Regions from separate parts of the Homo sapiens genome. Here region 2 is linked to region 1. The links are contacts of gene promoters, found by promoter capture Hi-C in human tissues and cell types (Jung and others, 2019). All regions are on one chromosome and are shown on one strand. The core of a region is centred on a gene start or on the middle of the fragment in contact, and the rest is flanking DNA. Distances in the headings are between cores, read along the strand shown.

Region 1 (5,096 bases), core at 1,197-3,696:
CTTAACCAACCATTGCTGTTCTGAGGCTATTCTTCTGAGAAGTGCAGGTGGATACTCAAAGAGTCCAGCTCACTAACTACAGACTTTCAAAGTAATTAAACAACATTTGAGCTGATCAGGTTAAAATTCCCAGCTGAGCATAGCTTTTCCATTCTCTGAGTTCTCTAGGAGTGCAGGAAAGAAATCTTGCAGCACCAGCTGAATCTCATCTGCCTATATCACAGCCCCTCCACCTTAAGTTGCACCAATTTGTAGGGGTCTCTGAGTTTTAAACCCAATTGGCCTCTCCCTTTCTTTCTTTCTTTTTCTCTTTCTCCCTTTCTCTCTCTCTCTTTCTCTCTCTCTCTTTCTTTCTCTTTCTTTCTTTCTCTTTCTTTCCTTCTTTCTTTCTTTCTTTCTTTTTCTTTCTTTCTTTCTTCTTTCTTTCTTTCTTCTTTCTTTCTTTCTTCTTTCTTTTTCTTTCTTTCTTTCGTGTATCAAGTTTACTACCTACCTCCTGGCCAAACCGGGCCACATGGTTAAGCCCAGATTCAAATTGGGTGGGAACTACAAAGTTACAAGGCAAAGGTCATGCATACAGAGAGGTCATTAATTGGGATCTACCACTGCAGGGTGGTAAAAGAGAATGAAAACTGATATGGTGGGGAATACCTTAGCATCTACTAAGGGAGTAATCAGGAAGATATGAGATATCCTGTGAAGGCTTCCCGAAGGAAGGAGAGGAAGGGAAGACCATTTCAGTTGGAAGAAGGATACATTATGGGAATAAGTCATTTTACTGGAGATATGAACACTTATGTAACCAATTCCCAATTGATAGACATGTGGGTTGTTCTACATATTCTCTATTACAATCAATGCTGATCTGTGTATCTAGCTATCCAGCTGGCATAGAGAGGCATATGGTGGATTTGTACACACACGTACACATACACATACACACTGCACACACATACCATGCAAATATAAGATAAATTCTTGGAATGACTAATTCTAGTAGCTTATAAATTTGTATAGGTATTGTCAAATCAGCCTTTTTCTTTCACTCCCAAGTTGGGAATTGCTGGGGACTCTCAAAACCATGTCACTGACTCCATTTTTGGTTGTGGGAGCTGGGAGCCCCTCCATTTCCTCTTCCCAGTTCTTTCTTCTGCAGCTGCCCCCAGGTTTGTTCTCCATGATCCAGCAACTTCTGTCTCCATCCCCCGTTCTCAGAAGGCTCCATCTCCTCCTTCCCCAAGAAAGTTGCAACTGCCCTCAGCTTTCCTCCCTCCCTCCTCAGGGAGTACCAACATCTCTCTCTTATCTTTATTCTTCTTTGTGAGGCTGATATGCTAAATTTCATCTAGTTTTCCCCAAACTCAAACCACTACCTCTCTACTGCTGCCTTCTCCCTCTCCATTTCCATCCCTAGCACTACTACAAAGGAACCCCATCCAGTCCAGCCGGTTGGCTTGCTCCTCCCCTCCTCCCACTCCAGTTCACGCTCCAGCCCACTGAAGAGTGGTGCCCACCCCTAGGCCCCTGCCTAAATGGCTCTTCCAGAAACACCAGTGACTTCCCACTCACCAAAGTCTGGGGCCGTTTCCTCAAGATCCTGCCCACTCCCTGACCCTTCCCTCCCTTGGGGCCACCATGGCTGCTTCTGGATGACTCAATCAGACACCCACATTGCAGTCCCATCCTTCCTGTTCAAATGAAAACATCTCATTTCAACAGCTCTCTTCATCTTCAGGACTAAGTCAGCCCCTTACACAAAGGACTCATGAGGGACATGCAGTCTGTGTGCCCAGCCTGAGCCCAAGGGTCTATTCTGATCCTTTTTTTTTTTTTAAGATAAAGGTTTTTGCAGGTATAATAGGGGTCTCCAACAAAAAGTAAAGAATAATTTTGTAGAAAGATTTTGAGACTTTCCTAACTCTCCGAAACTACACAAGCTGGTCCTTTTGACTTGGAAGCTAAATTTCTAAGATGGAAAGTCACATGTATGAGTGGGAGGCATGAAACCAATTATTCGACCTGTCTGGGGTCATGAGTGCAGAGGCGGCTCCTACGAACCATCTGCCTCTTCAAGTGTGGATGAGAGGTGGGTATGGCGGATGCTTGTCATTTCCCAATGGCTCGAGTGGATGTGGGGAGTATGGGAGTGAGGGCAAAAGAGAAAAGAGGGAGAGAGGCCGTCCAAGCTTTCACAACTCACTCTCTTGTGTTTGAAAATATCTGATTTCATTATTTTCTATAATTAATTTCTAGAACATCTATTCTGAGGAAAATGCTAGAAAGAAATATGCTATTCATTTGTATCAGCATTACTCTTTGTTGATATTAAATGGCTCAGTCACTTTATGGGGGAAATAAAGAGGTTGATTCATGGTGATGTGACCCTCTCGACACTTCTGGTTCCCTTTTTCCTGCTATATATCAAGACCTACAGCCCTTGGGAAGTGCATTTCTGCATTCGAAGAAGAATCTGAGAGAAACCTGTAAGTAAACTTTCAGAATAATCTTATTTCTAAAATTGCTTTTAAAAAAGTACTAGTAAATTGGAATAAACAATTGTGACCAGAGCATACTTTAAGGCCCCCTATACCCCGACAGTCTCCCTATGTATGGAAGTATCAGAAAGTCTTTTCATGTTGGTATCTGAATATCCTCTGCTCAGGGAAAACTGCAGCATGAATATCTTCTTATGGGTGTAGCCTGGGTATACGCGAGCCACCCTTCACTTTATGAATCCCCTCAGCTAATCCTCCTGGTGGTTATGGGGAGCCCTAGGCTGGCTCAGTCCTGCCTGGCCAACGATGCAGCTCCCGGCACCTGGCACACGCAGCAATGGGCTGAATTGTTCCGTAAATGCTATTCTGTTTACCTAGTAGCGTTCATTAATCTTTCCTTTCTTGTGTGAAGGCTGCTTTCACAGAGGAAGGCATTTGCTGGCTTTCCCAAGGCAAGAACAATGAAAACAAAGTCATGAGGAGTTCTCTCTACCTCAAATGAAGGCCGCAGCTCCTGCTCAAGCTATTTTGGCAGTCTGAGAGAACAGTACATTCTGAACCACATTGTAAGTTTGCAAGAGCTTATACAAAAAAGAAAGGGAGAAAAAAGGAAAAGGAAAAGAAACCCTCCATTCTTCTTTTGTTCCACTCCCAGGTGCTGGGCTTTGATGTTCTGTCTCAGAAGTGACTGCAGAACGCCAGCTCCAAGAACCAGCTCCGCTGCTCACTGCACCTTTCATTTCAGAGAGCATGGGGCTAGTGGGGACCTTAGAACTCAGCTAGCCCATAGGAGCTGAGGTCCAGGAGGTGACATGACCTATCCAAGGCCACGCAACCTGGCTTGGGTAGAGGCAGGTTGGACCACAGGTCTCCGTTTGGCGCTCTTTTCCTGTTCTGCTCTGTCCTTTGATCAAATTCCTTTTAAAATGAGATTCACATCAAGCCAGTGAGGGAGGCTGATGGGTTCAGACTGGGTTCCCGCAGGGGACCGGCAGGGCTGGTTGAGGAGTACAGAAAGAACAGAGTGCTTGTCCGTTTGGGTTTATTGTCCCCTGGGGTGTCTGCAGACTATATCTGGGCTTGTTGAGCATAAGCCATTGGCTTCTGCACAGGCAGAGTCAGAATGAACTGGTGTCACTTAATGGGAATTGCAGGACATCAGATGAGGCAGGAGCTTTGGAAATGGGGAGAGAGGGGAGCAATAAGATGCTCCCAAGGTCATTGTCTCCTGGCCTTTCCTCCAGAGAAGGTCACATTTCTTCCTCCCACACTTTCAATAGCAGTAAGCCTGTGGGTTTCTGCTTACCAGCTCTGGAGACACATGGGTGATGTGCAGCTTCAATACCCCTCCAGTCTAGAAAGCTCCTAGGGTGGGCCATTCATGTGGAGATTCTCATTATTATTTCATGGCTCCATTTTTTGTAGCTTCTGACTGGACCTTGTATCTGAAGCAAGGACACATTCATCTGCACCTTGAAAGTTGATCTGTGCTCAAAAGACAGTGCTCAGGAATGCCGGTCTCCTTCACTCATCAAAAAGGTGGCCAAACAGAGCTCTGTGGGTGGGGGCTGTGAGCCCTGTGCCCTCCATGCTGGGGCTCTCAATGCTCCCACTGACACTGAGATCCCATGCAGGGAAAACGATTGAGGTGTATGTACCTTGCAGAGGTGTCTGCTAGCTAGCATGGGCAGGGTTGATGTGGAAGTCTGGCTGTTTCTGTTTCCCATGGCAACAGCTTGGCCCTGCATGAAAGCAGGTAAATGTGGGCTCAAGCCAGATGCACAGACTGCATGGCTCTGCAGGGCTCTCAGCTCAAATCAGGGCTCTTCATCCCTAACCCTGTTCTGCTATTTTCCTGTTCCCTTCCACTCAGCCACAAAAAGGGCTTTAACCCCATGAAAGAGAGATGGGGCCCTTGGTGGTACTCTGCTGTGGACTGCTAAGGCTTCCCTGCCTGAGGTGTGGTAGAAACTGCAGTTCTGAGATAAAAGCAAGAGAGTGGCCATTACTCTAGGGATAGTGCTGTTGGTAAAAGCCAGAAACAGGTATTGTATCCTGGGGACACAAGCATGTTGAGTCAGGAATAGACATTATTGACAATGGAGGCAAAATAAAGAGAAATTACAGGTTAAAGGGATCAGGTAAACTTTTAGATGCTGCCAGAAAAAAACGATGGAGAGGCAGAGGGAGGGACTCTGTAAGCACAAGAGAGGGGAATAAAACAGTTAGAAATCTTTGGGCAAAAATAAACATTTCCGAGGTATAGAGGAAAACCTTTATTTGTGAGACTGGAACTTGGTTTAAGCATGGCTTTTAAATGTCTCCAGGGATAAAAGGGGAAAAGGTAATTCACAGGAATGGAGAAGAGGAGGGCTAAGGTGAGAAGCCAGCCAGAGAGGAGAGAAGAGAGCCATGTGAACGTCATCTGATGATCAAGGCTGCACTCTCACAATCCGTGGCCAAAATCAGCCGTCAGAGTGTTTAAAAATAATTTGAGCCAACAGTTTTTTAAGAACCAGAAGATGTCACCCAAAGAAATCTAGATTTCTGACTTAAAAAATAAAAGTCAGAAAATCTGGTGACTGCCTCCATAGAGAACTT
Region 2 (5,693 bases), core at 246-2,745, 42 kb after region 1:
TCATTTCTCCAGATAAGGTCCTAATTCATTTGTAAATTTTGACCATGAAATTATACTCCCTGTCTTAAGTAGTTCCCTCTGTATGTTATCAGCCTCCTTAGTGCAACTTGCTCATAGTTGATTATCCAAGGCTGTATTGAATGTTTCCTAACATCTTAAAGAATGACTCTCTAGCAAGCCCAAGGCCTTCTACAATCTGGAAGGCTTATCTAAATGTTCTGCTTTGATCAATCTTCCCTTGGCTCAATTGTCCTTGAGTCTTGGATCACTGTGAAGCCTCTGACCTTGATCTCTTCAACCCTTATGAGGAGAGATGCTAATTTCATATGCTGTCATGCAGGAAGACTTTTCTTGCCTACAGTCCCTTACCGATGGCACACACTTCAGGGGTGGGCCTGTTTCCTGGTCCCTGCTGTGGCATCTTCTTTTGTCACTCTGGATTTCAGTGTGGCGACTTCTCCCTTATAGGGTGCACGCTCCACAGGGGTAGGTGTGCAAGTCTGAAAGAGAACATTTCATTTCTCTCTTGTGGTTTATTTTCTTGAGTTCAAAGTTAAGTGTAGCTCCCTTTATGAATTGCGAGAGCTTTAAAAAAAGAATCTTATAAATTTATCACGTGCCTCCCCATCCCCTTGGCCTTTCACGGAAATTCCTGGCAACCTTGAGAATCTGGATTGTCCCACTTTTTGTGGGTATTAATCTGCCTCAGACAGAGGCCCAGGGACACTCACTGGGGCCTCTGCCATATCCTCACGCCCTTCTGAGTCCCACAACTGTCTCCTGCTGTCCTTTCCAACATCCGACCTTTTCTTCTAGTTTCAGTCCTACTCACCTGAGTTTGCAGTGCTTCTTTGTACCTCTCCTAACACTCTCAGAGCAGTTGCTTCAGATTCTAGCAATTGGGTACGCTTTCCACTTTCCTGTCTCTGTGCATTATGGATCTTCCACAGAATCTCACCTCGTTGGTGACCGACTATGCAGCAGAACCCTCTGCTGGATTCAGCGAGAGCTGTCAGTGCTTGAGCAGAGTTTTGAAATCACACACACACACACACACACACACACACACATACACACAGACAAATAACAAATTATTGTGGGTCTCATTTTGACCACCCAAACTAATACATTGTAGTGATCAACAGTGTGACCTTTGAAGTGAGACAGATCTAAGTTAGAATTCTCCATTTGCCATTTACTACGCATAGGAAACTGACAAGTTAATTAATGCCTCCAGGCCTACTTCCTCATCCATGAAATGGGGGAAATAAACCTATCTCTCAGATAGTGGAGAATTTCCAGAGCCAAAGCATTTTCTTCATTCATTCAGCAGATATTTACTGAGCTCACACAGCCCCAGAGAGTACACCAAACACCGAGGATCCAACACAGAACAAGGCCCACAGCTCCTGCAGCCACAGAACTTGAAGCACTGCATCGGGTGTGCACTGAGTGCTCAGGAAATGGGGGGACTCCTGCCCTTCCCTCACCAGGCCAAGCCTCTGCTCACTTTCTGTATCTGTCTAAATGCTTTGCTGGACTTCCATTTTGGCTCACTGTCTACTCAGTCTTTGAGCCCTGTTCTCATCTTGAGGAACACAGACACCAGGAAATGAAGGGCCAGCCTCCCATTTCTACCACCTTGGACCACCACATCTGAAACCTTAAACTCACTAATACCCCACTCTCTGGCCACATCCTCCCTTTCAGGTCCTTGGTCCCTGTTTTTTTTTTTTTTTTTTCTTCTCCTGACTTGACTTTCCAAGCCAGACTGCCTGAATATCACTTAAACCTAGGGTGACTGTACAATTTATCATCCAAAGTAGGACACTTCTTAGCATGAAAAGGGCACTAAACATAATTAACGTAAGTATAATCCAGGCCCGTCTGAGCAAACCAAGATTTATGTCCTTCTTTCAGCTCGTTCCTGCCTATCACCTAGAGGGCTTGACTTCTCTCTGCTCCTCTTGGCATTCATACTCAGCAAAGCCGATGGTATATTTCAGTTCAATCTTCAGGCTCTTTTGCAGTGAGTGCCTCTGGAGCATGTGACCTAACTGAGCAGACTTTTGTGCCGCCTACTGTGTGCTGTGCAGCCCTCCTCAGATCCCATTCCGTCTCCCTCTTCCTACACCACTTCCTTGAACCTACACTACTTGCACTTTTCAGCTGTTCATTTTTTGTCTGTCCTGGACTCCGTCTTGGGAACTGACTGCCCATGCCAGTGGCTCAGGTGGGGCCATCACACACAGGGCCTGTCCTCCTCACTCAGAACAGGGCTTGCTCTACAGCCTGCTCTATCACCTAGAGGATGCTTCCCCAGAACCCAGCTTGCAGGCTCTGGGAGCAGGCACCACCCAGGCCAGGCACATCAGAATCCTTCCTGGTAGCTTCCGGTCAGGGCCATGCTTTTGCATGGGCTGGGCTGCCGCTTTCATTTTTGTGTAATTATCTGACTTCTCTTTTATCACTCAGCTCAGCTAATCATCAGTCTAGGAAGCTTTGGCCCTCTGTCCCCTATCCACTATCTTGCTTACCCCAGGTTTCTGGAATAATCTGTTCACTCGTCAGTCTCCCCCAGCAGACAGAGGGCCGGTGTGCTGCTCTCTTTCTTCATAACAAGCACTCAATAGATATGGGTAGAAGGGATTTTTGGGGAGGGAGCTATGAAGGGGGCTTCCCATCTAAGCCTGCTTTCTTCTTTTTGTGGTTTGGCCTGGCGTGGGCTGACTCCGTTTCTGTCAGGCTCTTTTGTTGTGCTGCATCATTTATCTGTTCTCCAGGCTGTACTTTTTTTTTTTTTTCGAGACAGAGTTTCACTCCATCACCCAAGCTGGAGCACAGTGGCACAATGTTGGCTCACTGCAAACTCCACCTCCTATGTGCACACGATTCTCATATCTCAGCCGCCCAAGTAGCTGGAATTACAGGCACACACCACCATGGCCAGCTAATTTTTGTATTTTTAGTAGAGACGGGATTTCGCCATCTTGGCCAGGCTGGTCTTGAACTCCTGACCTCAAGTCATCCACCTGCCTCAGTTTCCCAAAGTGCTGGGATTACAGGCGTGAGCCACTGAGCCTGGCCTGGGCTGTACTTTTTCTGTGGCTGGCTGTCTACAAACTGCTTTCTGGCTGTTCAGTCATGGAGCCAGCCATGTCTGGCTTGTCACCCTGGTCACGCTGACCATCACATGTCTCTGACCCGACTGGCTGGGTCTAACCTGCACCCTCTCTCTCTCTTGCCTGCCTCTGAGGCTCTGGGTGGGCCAGGTCTGCTTTCCTCTCAGAATGGCCATGGATGGGAGCCACACCTGCGTGCACGGCCACCTCAGAAACAAGCAGCCTCCTGTCAGGAGTCCTGTGCTGTCTCACTCTCCACAGTCTTTCCTTTTGATAGATAAGTTGACAGAAATCAAAGACAACTTAAGTTCTACTCTCAAGCCTCTCAGCCCTTTTAACCTTTTAATATTTGCTCATCCTTAGAATTGGGTTACATAAGCTCTATGATGGCTAGACTCATGCCTTCTTCATCTTTGTGCTGTCTGTCACTTCTGGCATTGTTCTCTGGGCATGTTTTAGGACATCACTAGATGTTCACTGTGACAAAATGGAAAAGTGATGGCACTCCTTCTGCAGAATCTGAAACCATCACTGCTGTTATTCAGAAGTTCAGCTGCACATTTGTTTTCTAAGTAGACTTAACCTCCAACTCTTAGCAATCCTTGTCTTATTCCTTCTCTCTAATGATGATGGCAAACCTCTGTCCGAAGTAGGAACTGCCCAGCCTGACACAGACCCCAGCATATGGCAGAGCCATTGCTTAATGCATGTAGTTGACACTAGCAGTCAGGGTCAAAATAAAGTGAGCCTCTTTCTCTGGCATCCCAGATGAATATGGTGATAATAAAGACTCCATCCCTATTCTCCTGGCTAAAAGCATACCTAATTCTTACAGGACATTTATGCAGCATAAAACACATAGAAAAACCAGGATGAGGAAACAGAGTACTCTGGATTGAACAAAGACAGCAGGTTTCTTTTCTCGCCTTCTGGGACTCCATGTTCTCCTGATGGTCTTCCTGCATCACTGGTCAGCCTTCTCAGACTCCACTGATGCTTGCTCTTCTCCTCCACCTCTGAAGGTTGGTGGGCCCAGAGCTCTATCTTAAGCCCCCTTTCTTCTCTAATATAGTTTCCTTGGTGACCTTAAGACTCACGGTTTTAAATCTATATGTTATGGCTCCCAAATTTTATCTCCAGCTTTGATGTCTCTTGATCTCCAGACTCCTTTATCTCCTTTGTGCTCATTAGCTACAGCACAAAGAGGTGTAAAATTGCTCAAACACAACTATAACTTAAGCACCATGAACCACAGTTTGAAACAAGTAGAATATAAGCTCTTTGTGATCAGACTGGCTGTCTTATTAATGCCTATATCCTCAGCATCTAGAATGGTGCCTGGTGATCTACAAACATTTATTAAATGAAGGGAGATTTCTTGACTATAGGACTTCTTGAAACTTTTTATGATATTGGGCAATTGTATCACCTGAGGGTAACATCATCTAAAATTATTTGACAACTTTCTCAAGGAATACTTCAAGAGACTCAAGTCCTGAGAACACACTGTTGGAAGGCTAATTTGATTATGGTATTTTTTCCCCCCAGTACATGCTGGTCAAGATTAGATGATCACACCTTGACAGCAATTCTTTCCATCTTGATGGTATCACAATCAAATAAAATGGCTTGAGGGTAAAACCACATGAGAGGCTGTTGCTGTGGTTTGAATGTTTGTCCCCTCTCAAACTCATGTTAAAATTTAATTGCCATTGTAACAGTATTAAGAGGTGAGACTTTTGAGAGATGGTTAGGCCATGAGGGCTCTGCCTTTATGAATGGATTAATGCTGTTATCTTAGGAGTGCATTCCTTATAAAATGACAAGTTTGGCCCCTTTGGCTCTCTCCCTTCTTCTCTCTTTGCCCTTCTGCCATGTGATGCCTTCCTCCATGGGATGACACAGCAAGAAGGCCCTCTCTAGATGCCAGCGCCTCGTTCTTGGACTTCATAGCATCCTGAAATGTCAGCCAATAAATGTCTGTTCATTATAAATTAACCAGCCTCAGATATTCTGTTATAGCAGCAAGCACAAAAAATAAGTAATACAAAAGACATAGGTGGCACCTCACCTAGCAGGACATCGGTGGTTTACTTTGGTAAATGAGAATTGAACTTGAGTTCTCAGTATTTGATGATACTTGTCATTGTGACAAATTAATAGAGAGACAGAAATGAAAATTATATAATTTGTGGTTCTATAAATAAACATTAATTCCAATTATCATTACACTTTCATAACTGCAGAAATGCCTTTTGGTTACATGACCAAGGAAAAAGGAAGACATAAGTTGATAGTAAATTTAATCATATTGGGCTGGGCATGGTGGCTCACACCTATAATCCAAGCACTTTGGGAGGCTGAGGGAGGCTGATCACTTGAGGTCAGGAGTTCAAGACCAGCCTGGTCAACATGGTGAAACCCCGTCTCTACTAAAAATACAAAAATTATCCAGGTGTGGTGGCCTACGCCTGTAGTCCCAGCTACTTGGGAGGCTGAGGCAGGAGAATTGCTTGAACCCAGGAGGTGGAGGTTGCAGTGAGCCAAGATCATCCCACTGCACTCTAGTCT

The links. Contacts are between HindIII fragments. The study calls those that stand out against the background at their distance.
Region 2: a contact is called between a fragment that was not itself captured here and the fragment with the promoter of DCSTAMP in region 1, in 1 of the 25 tissues and cell types used here (hippocampus).

Annotation. Positions count from the first base shown.
Region 1 is chr8:104,337,380-104,342,475 of GRCh38, forward strand. It overlaps DCSTAMP (dendrocyte expressed seven transmembrane protein), which reads left to right and starts at 2,447. Exons shown (of 4, transcript NM_030788.4): 1 at 2,447-2,483. RefSeq lists an enhancer at 5,024-5,096. The HindIII fragment of the contact is 10,500 bases long and covers 1-5,096 here.
Region 2 is chr8:104,380,815-104,386,507 of GRCh38, forward strand. DPYS (dihydropyrimidinase) reads right to left here. Exons shown (of 10, transcript NM_001385.3): 9 at 370-500. The coding sequence ends at 384. Among named protein-coding and RNA genes, the nearest start is that of DCSTAMP, 44 kb to the left of the region's middle. The HindIII fragment of the contact is 6,955 bases long and covers 1-4,973 here.